Linked DNA regions of Homo sapiens: region 2 is linked to region 1. Evidence: promoter capture Hi-C in human tissues and cell types (Jung and others, 2019). All regions are on one chromosome and are shown on one strand. Each heading gives the region's core, a stretch centred on a gene start or on the middle of the fragment in contact. The rest is flanking DNA. Distances are from core to core; before and after follow the strand shown.

Region 1 (4,844 bases), core at 1,674-4,173:
TAGGTCAAAATATTTTAACTCTATACTAAGATAAGATTATACATGAATAAATATTGCTTAAAATAGAAATCAGAGGAAAAATAGAATATGGAGGATTCTTGTCCTTCAGTTCCTTTATAGTTTCTTACCTTTCTCATCCTTCCAACAATTACTCAGACTTTTGCCCTTCAGTTTATGATACAGCTCTTTATAAAAATCAAGTACTATCATATTACTATAAATTAGACATATGTATAGAGAAGAATAGACTGTCATGATTACATTCTCTCCTGGTTAGCTAGAATTCAAACTGATTCTTAACTCAATGTGCATCTTTTATACTTTGCACGTTAAGATAAAAACTGAAGTCCAAAGTTGGGCCTGATCTGGTCATAAACCACTTGATAAATATATTACAGGAAGTCTTTAATACTTGTGAGATGTTTAGTTACAGCATTAGCATATAAAACTGATTTGAAAATGGTTGACTCATGCAGTTTTGAAACTTTACCTCAAAATATAAAATAAATATACAGACATCATTCACATTGATTTGAAGTTCCTTTAAGACGTCTTTCCTATTGGCTTACATTATTTAGTATTGAACTCATCACCAAAATAGTAAAATTTCCTTAGCCAAAATGGCTAGTGACTGATTCTTTAGTGATTCTGTTCAAACAAAGATGTTGCTATATTTTATTGTAGTAGGCATTGTGGAAAATGAAAAGATATATAAGACACAATGTTTTGGCATTGGTAAAACATTTGGCAATTTTAATCACCTAGTTATTGTAAAGTAGCAACCGCAGTCGTGGAGGAGAACAACAATTTGGTGGTAAAGAAGTTTACAGATTCTAGATTTCTCCAGACATTTCCTCATTCCTCCCATTATACTGTTTTCCCCTTCCCAGTGGTGTATCTATTGCAGCCCCTCTATGGACTGAAAATAGTTACCACTCCAGGTTAACCTTACTTTATTTCCCTCCCTAATCCCCAGTTGTCCCTCCCTCCTTCCCTTCCCCTTCCTTCCTTCCCCTTCCTTCTTTCCCCTTCCTTCCTTCCTTCCTTCTTTCCTTCCTTCCTTCCTTCCTCTTTCTCTCTCTCTTTCTTTCTTTTCTTTCTCTCTCCTTTCTTTCTTTTTTTTTTTTTTTTGCTCTTGTCACCCAGGCTGGAGTGCAGTGGGGCCATCTCCACTCACTGCAACCTCCGCCTCCCAGGTTCAAGCGATTCTCCTGCCTCAGCTTCCCAAGTACGTGGGACTACAGGTGTCCACCATCATGCCCGGCTAATTTTTGTATTTTTAGTAGAGATGGGGTTTCACCATGTTGGCCAGGCTGATCTCAAACTCCTGACCTCAAATGATCCAACTGCTTCGGCCTCCCAAAGTGCTGGGATTACAAGGGTGAGCTACATCGCCCGGACTCCTTTCCTCTCCCCTCCTTTCCCCTCCTTTCCCCTCCTTTCCCCTCCTCTTTCCCCTCCTCTCCCCTCCCCTCCCCTCCCCTCCTCTCCCCTCCTTTCCCCTCCTTTCCCCTCCTCTCCCCTCCTTTCCCCTCCTTTCCTGTCCTTTCTTTCCAGGCATATAAAAACCCTGTTAAACAATTATCACGGTGCCTGATAAGAATTTCAGTTTAAGTTCTCATAACTTATTAAACCATAAAACATTTCAGAATGTCATCTTGTACCTTAAGGCCTTGGTCATCTTGTACTTTAAAGACTGAAACAAATACAGGGTGGATTTTAGTACAGGACAGGGACAGTTGACTCTGGAACACAAAGCTCAACCCAGGGAAGGCAGCCTTAGTTAGACAGGTTGGGAGTTGCAGTGGAGGAACTAAAGCAACCACCTAGGACAGGATCTTAACCTGGATCCAGCAGGCTTCTAGAAGGCCTGTGGCTGAGCTACAGAAGGCTCAAAACCCCTGGAAATTGTGTGCAAAATTTTATCTGCCTCTGTTCCTTTTCCGTGGGAATAGGGTCCAAAACGTCATTAAAATTCTTCCAGGGATCTTGGATATAAAGAAGAGTTAAGAAAAGTCAATCTGGAAGGAATCTTTAGAAAGATTTTTCTATGTTAGCTACAGAGACAAGCAGGTGGAATCTGCATTTTAAAAAAGAAAAAGCATAACCTCATCATTTTTGCTATTTTAAAGCTGCGAAGCTTAGAGTTAAGCGGGAACCATTTTTTCTTTAAAATTTCAAGTCTTTATGTATTATTGTCAAATACTTTCTAATTAAAAAATAAAAATCTTGGTTTTCTGGTTTTACATTGATAAATTATAAAATAGATATTAAATATATTCTGTGACAAAGCAGTACAACTTGTACACTGTAGATTTTGAATAAATAACGCTTTCCTTGGTAAAATATAGTGTAAACTGCTGAGGGTCCTTTAGTATCAGTTGCAAGGTTAAGCTACTTGGGGGAACACAGATAAATGTGGCATGGTTACAGGCCTACAGCAGCTTAAAATGCATTTGGGAGGCACATAACCATATGTCAGCAATTAGATTGTATAAACATTGGTCAATTAGCATTTTATGACATTAGTATTTTATTTTTCAAAAGTAATTTAACGTAAGTAACTGATATTATAAGTTCCTATATTTTAAAATAAAACAAGACTTAAAAGAATATAAAGAAGAGCTATCATTACTTGTAGAATACTTTTCAAAGAGTCGTTTTTGTGGTTGACGTCAATTTATTCTAATACCATTAATATAAATAGAGATAAAACTATGAAACCAGCAAAGGAAATCCAGTTCAGTAAAAGAAGAAAAATAAAAATTCATTTCACTTTCCTACCCTTTACTGAAAGCTTCACTTTTAAATAGCAAAAGGTGATTATTTAAATATAGCAAAGCTTGACCACTGATTAAGTAATCTGGAAAATTTGCTTGCTTACCTGACTTGGCCAGTGCTCTTGTTGGAAATGTATTCTGGATGTTTCTGGTTAAAAATGGGTGTGGATTTATAGACACACACACACACACCTGACCTACAACCTCACCTGCATAGAAACAAGAGCATAGTTACCGGAAAACAAACTTAGAAAAATAGGCTGGTCTGAAAAACTCTGTACTTCTTTCCAGTTCTCATGCTTCTCACACTAAAAAAGCTCTATTCTTTTTCTCTAAATTAAGATTGAATGTCCTCATAAAATAAGGTCAAATACCATCTTTGTGCTTCTTTCTCTTTTACCTTTTATTTCCCAAGGTAGTTTAATGTTTGGCTGAAGTTCAGCACAAAAAAAAAAAAGAAAAGGAAGAAAGAAAACGGAATGAATTTAAGAACTGTGTGCATGCCATTGTTCAAATAGAAATTCCTAAGGGTTACTCTGTTTACAGGAATATAATTAACAGCTAAAGAGATTGGGTCCTTTTTTTTTTGAGAGAGAAGGAAATAAAAATTCTGTTTTAAAGTTGAACATTTTCATAATTTGATTATTCTTTACAATTTTTCTATAAAACCTTTACTGCACAAAAAATTAGAAAAACAGGCCATTAGATAAGTTTAAATTTATCTAATAGTTAGATACTGTTGAATTAATTGAGAGTAATTATTTAATTACTGTTAAAATAACGTAAGGCAGTGTGTCATCAAATTTGGCATACCTGTTTTTTGTACAGCCCAGGAAACAGGAACGGTTTTGACATTTTTAAACGGTTGGGGAAAAAAACCCAAAAGAATCATATTTTGTGACATGTGAAAGTTATATGAAATTCAATTTCAGTGTCCTTAAGTAGAGAGAGATGTGGCGGATGGCATGCAGCCATGTGCATTTGCTTACTAGTGTCTATGGCTACTTTTGCACTGCAACAGCAAAGTCCGGTACAGTCCAGGACAGTGGATACCAAAATCTGTGCACACTCAAAGTCCCATATCTGGCCCTGCGTAACCCACAGATATGAAAAGTTGGTCCTCCGCATATGCAGGTTTGGCATCCCGTGAACACAGTATTTTTGATCCACTTTTGGTTGTGGATACAGAACTTGCCCATATGAAGGAATATATTAAAAAAAAATCCTTCTCTAAGTGAACCCACACAATTCAAATCTATGTTGTTTAAGGGTCAACTGTGCTTGTGACAGGGACTGTATGATCTGCAAAACCTAAAATATTTACTATCTTTAGTAAATGTTTACAGAAAATGTTTGTTGAACCTTAATCCAGGGTATTGTTTATAAATTCCTTCCTTCCTTCTTTCCTTCCTTTCTTCCTTTGCTTCCTTTCTTCCTCTCTCCCTCCCTCCCTTCCTCTCTTCCTCCCTTCCTCTCTTCCTCCCTTCCTCTCTTCCTCCCTTCCTCTCTTCCTCCATCCCTCCATCCCTCCATCCCTCCCTTCTCCCACCCTTTTTTTGTTTCTTTTTTTTGTGGGGAAGGGTCTAATTGCTCTGAATACATTAACAAATATACTGTGCAAGAATGGGAGTGATGATTGTCTTGCTCCTGATGTTAAAGCGGGTGTGCTTCCAGTATTTTAACTTTAGATGTAGTGCTGGATTTGGCTGAGTTGACCATGTTAAGAAGGTAACCATTATTCTTAAACTACATCTCTTAAAAGCAGGACTGTTGGATTTTGTTCTATAAAGATGGGCATATGGATTTTCTCATTTGTTATAGAAAATTTTACTGTTTTCCTAATTAAACTTTCCATTGTCCTGAAAGAAACTTCATGTAGCTAGGTTGTATATTCTTTAACTGTACTGCTGATTTGTGTACTTGTCTAACTGTGCTTTCTTCCTTACATAGGATTCTCAAAGGGACCCTTCCCTGGAACATGCTATTCAAATGGAATCCTTCTTGCTGAAGGTTATGAAACTTGACATATAATTTTAATTTTAAATCCAGCCAGCCTTTGCAAAG
Region 2 (4,529 bases), core at 1,465-3,964, 40 kb before region 1:
ATTTAGAAACTTAGGTGCAAATGAATAATGATGTTTATTCCAAAAGAGAGTGTTTTTCCTAGTTTTGAAGATAAGTTGAAGATTATAAAGGATGGACCTTCGAGTAGTCATCATTTACTACTGGGTGAATGTTTATCAGTGTTAGGGTCTGAAATTTTTACTTCCCTTTTCAGGCATTAGTCTGAAGCAGCCAGTGTATTTAAATAAGCCAGGTAGCACTTGATTGGCCTCTGGTGATTCTATTTAAGTCCATCCATCCTGGGTCAGATGATCTAGAGGTAACTGCAGAAACAGATCTCCTGGTAATTGTTGCTAGCTGCAGAAATATTTTAACTGCTGGTTTTCTTTAAATTATGATTTACTCCATGGTAAAATGGTAAAGTTGGCACTCTTAATTCCAAATTTTGAATCTAAAGGTTAAGAAAAAATCAGGGTCTCAGATATAGAAGCTTTTGGAATAGGGAAGGATTTAAACCAAAGGTAACTAGCTTTAGGTAATATAGAAAGACAGTTAAAAAAAATAACCCCAAAACAAGAACGACTCCCACCACCCACCACTGTTTTATTTCTTGGCTCACTCTACTTTGTATGTGTGTGCACTTGTTCACATTTAAAATTACTCTCAAATGTATTCAAGTAATAACTTGATTTTAAAACTAGTCAGGGTGATTTTGGCATTTTGTTATAAGACAGTGTTATGTAAACTCTTATTGGGTAAGGCTTCAGAAAAGAGTGTTTTTTTCCCTTCTTTTAAATAGTCAGAACTAGCTTATTTGTGGAAAGAATGTAGCTTAATATTCTTAATTTGCTTTTGGATTTTCTGCTTGCGTGTCTGTACATTAAGAGTTGGTCATGCTTCTCAATTTAAGAAGGAAAAGTGTTTTCCTAACTTCAGCAAGATGTTAGGTAAATAGCCAACTTCATAAGAGAGCTTTATGCACTACTTGGATGGAAGCATCAGTATCAGATTATCTTTTATAAAGTTTTATAATTTGTTTCGTGCTGTGACACATGTTTAAAATACTCAGGATTCCTTCTGGCTTACATATCAAACTACAACAAAAATCCCTTTATTTGACTATACTGAAAAAAACTTTCTAAATAACAAAATCTTACTAGCTCAATAAAATACTCTATCATCTGAGAGAAAGTGGAAAGGGCATGTTAATCTAGACAATATGAAAAATGTAGGCTGGACCTGGTGGCTCACGCCTGTAACCCCAAGCACTTTATGAGGCTGAAATGGGCAGATTGCTTGATCATAAGAGTTTGAGACTAGCTGAGGCAGTATGGTGAAACCTCATCTCTACCAAACAAAAACAACAACAACAAAACAAAAAACAAAAATTAACAGGATGTGATGGCATGGGCCTGTAGTCCCAGCTACGCCGGAGGCGGAGGTGGGAGGATCTTTTGAGGCCCGGAGGGGGCGGTTGCAGTGATCTGTGATCCTGCCACTGCATTCCAGCCTGGGAGATAGAGTGAGACCCCATCTCAAAAGAAAAGAAAAGAAAAGAAAAGAAAGACGCAAATCTAAAGATGTCCCTGAGGGAGGCTCAGGTCACTACCTAAGGAGAAGTCAAAGAAGAATAAAGAAAAATGAAAAAGTCTGCTACGTTAAAAGTTCTGAAACATTTTCCTGTAAATGTCTATTTTTTTAAAATGGCAATATTAAGCTTCAGAAACATTGGTTTAACATCTATATTTATTCTTCCAGCCAATCGATGCAGACTACTTCAGATGTGTATATCTATTACTTTTTTGTCTTTATTGATTTCTGGAACTCCCTCTCAATATTTATTTCTTTTTGTTGAAAATTTGTGTTTTGTCACATTAAGAAATCTTAAGATATCTGCTATCCACCCGTTTCAAATTAATTAATTTTTTTTCTCCTGGTTCATAATCCTCACAAAAATACTCAAAGTTAACCTGGCCCTATTTCAAACTCTGGCCAGAAGTGTCTGGGTTATTTTTAACTTAAGTATCCTTTGGAAGAAAATTTTATAAACAAACCAAAAGTAGCCTTTGATAATAGAATGTGCATGAATTTGGGATGCAGGTAGAATTGGTTAAATTATTTAGACTGAGCTTTAGCTTTCTTATCTATAAATTGGAGGGAAATATACTAATTTCATAATGTTACAAGGATCAGATATTTAAAAAGTGCACATTCCACTAAAGCTCTTTGCACATGAGTGCACAATAAAGGACCACTATTTTTAAATCATAAGAATTTTACAATTTAGTCCTGAAAAAGAACAGAATGCTTACAAATAGAGTTGTTTTTGTTCATTTTCTAGGCACATGCTAGCTTGACTGAATTATTCTCCTTACCTAGTTTATGATAAGTCCTGGTTATCTATATATCTGAAAAAACCTTTATTTTGTTTGTTACCTTTGCACTGCCTAATTTGAGAAGTGGCTTTGAAAAATATGTGATAGTCCATTCTCTTTCAAAGTATAGAAGCCTAGCATGCTTTCAATAGTTCTGAATGAATTGTTGTGTTTAGGCAATGGTTATTTGACTCTTCAAAATTAAGTGCATCCTCAAATTGTTTTGTCATATGGCTGTGCCGTTAGAGGTAGTCATCTTTCAGGTTGACTTAAAAGTTTGTCTCTCACTGTCTCTCTTACTCTCCATCAGATTGTGTTTTCTCAATAGCTTGCAACAATATCCTTCATTTCACATGCTCCTCTTTCAATGTGACGTTGACACTCCTTCCATTTGAAATGTGGGTTTCTTGTGTCCTCCTTATAAATCTGGTGGTACTGTGTGACACTATGTGACTTCCAACACAAGGTCATAAAAGCAATAAGACTTCTGCCTGGCTCTCTTGGGATGTCTGCTCTTGGAACCCAGCTGCCATGCTGTGAGAACCGAAACTAGTCCACATTGGGAGACCACATGGAGAATACACAGGTATGTTTTCTGGCTGACAGACCAGCTGAGGTCCCTGCTGACAGCCAGCATCAACTGCCAGACATGTTAGTGAAGACTGCTGGAGATGATTCTAATCCTCAGCCGTTGAGTCACACCGTCCTCTCCTTGCCTTCAAGTCTTCCCAGCTGAGGCCTCTGACATCAGGAGCTGTGCTCTGTGTGAAATACTGACCCACAAAAATCAGTGAACATTAAAAAATCGCTCTTTTAAGATACAGAACTGTGTTTAGAGATGGTTTGTTACTTAGCTGTAGATCTGGAACACTTTCTTTTCCTTTTCTCTGTTCCTCCTTCCACGGGCATGTCAATGGAACTTAATTCTGCATTACTGAGATGCATATTTTGAATAGACGTGCAGTGATCAAAATGGCTTGCCTTTTCTCAGAGCATGCTATGTGCTAGGCACCATTCGTTGTGAACACTGTATATATATATTTAAATCTTCCAATAATACGACAAGAGTACTACTATTACCTGTATTATTTTCCCTACCTACAAATGAACAAACTGAGTCATGAAGAATTTGTATAACTTGTCAATGTCAAATATCTATTAAGCTTTGGCTCCAAAACCCTCACTTGAACATTGTAAGGTATAGAGGTAAGTGAAAATAATATTAAAATTCCAGGCAGGGAGAGTTCAGTTTACTTTTTAGGTGTATAGATTGAAAATGTTAAATTCCAAATATACTAAAAACTTTATTTATTTATTTATTTTGAGATAGGGTCTCACTCTGTCACCCAGGCTGGAGTGCAGTGGCACGATCTCAGGTCATTGCAACCTCCACCCGCCCCGGGCTCAAGTGAGCCTTCCACCTCAGCCTCCCAAGTAGCTGGGACTACAGGTATGTGGCACCATGCCCAGCTGTTTTTTAAAAGAAACATTCTGTAGACACGGGGTTCTGCCATGTTGCCCTGCCTGGTCTCCAACACCTTGGTTCAAGTGATCCACCCCTGTGGCCTCCCAAAGTGTTAGAGTTACAGTTGTATCCCTTTTTTTTAGTAGCTTAACAGTTTAGTAACTTAATCCACAGTTTCTGGGATCCAGGAAACTGTGAATTAGTAAATCTAAGCTTAGAAATCAAGATTAGCTTTCAGTTCTGTCTTTTACAATTATATTTCTTCTATCCTCAGATGCACATTTTTTTCAACATTTTGCCAACTCTGAAATGAGAATGCCTTTTACAATTGGTCATGTTTCATCATCGAATTTAAGTCATTTTTGGTGTTATATATAAAATAATGATCCTTCTTACAATAGATGCTGTCTTATTTTGGTAAAATGCATATATTATACATTTTTAACCTATCTGACATATACTATTGTTGCAACAATGGCATGCATAGATAAGGACAGGACAAATAATTCAAGAACCCTCCTAAGTCATTGCTGCAATGTTAAACTGAATAGTGAAAGAGTGTCAGAGATCTAGCAGGCTCTAAAATAAGGCCAGTGTTAGCATCCATTGTTACCTCGAAAGTATATGTATGAAAGCCCATTTCCCTCGGGTAATTGTCTTCACATACAGACACTTGGGAATCAATATTTAACAAAGTCACTGCTAGAATTAGGTTTCACAGGGATACAGC

Evidence for each region. Contacts are between HindIII fragments. The study calls those that stand out against the background at their distance.
Region 2: a fragment that was not itself captured here is called in contact with the fragment with the promoter of AGR3 in region 1 in 1 of the 25 tissues and cell types used here (heart left ventricle).

The regions. Positions count from the first base shown.
Region 1 is chr7:16,879,060-16,883,903 of GRCh38, forward strand. AGR3 (anterior gradient 3, protein disulphide isomerase family member) reads right to left here and starts at 2,924. Exons shown (of 8, transcript NM_176813.5): 1 at 2,885-2,924. The HindIII fragment of the contact is 4,580 bases long and covers 2,469-4,844 here.
Region 2 is chr7:16,838,879-16,843,407 of GRCh38, forward strand. No RefSeq gene overlaps it. Among named protein-coding and RNA genes, the nearest start is that of AGR2, 36 kb to the left of the region's middle. The HindIII fragment of the contact is 3,304 bases long and covers 1,063-4,366 here.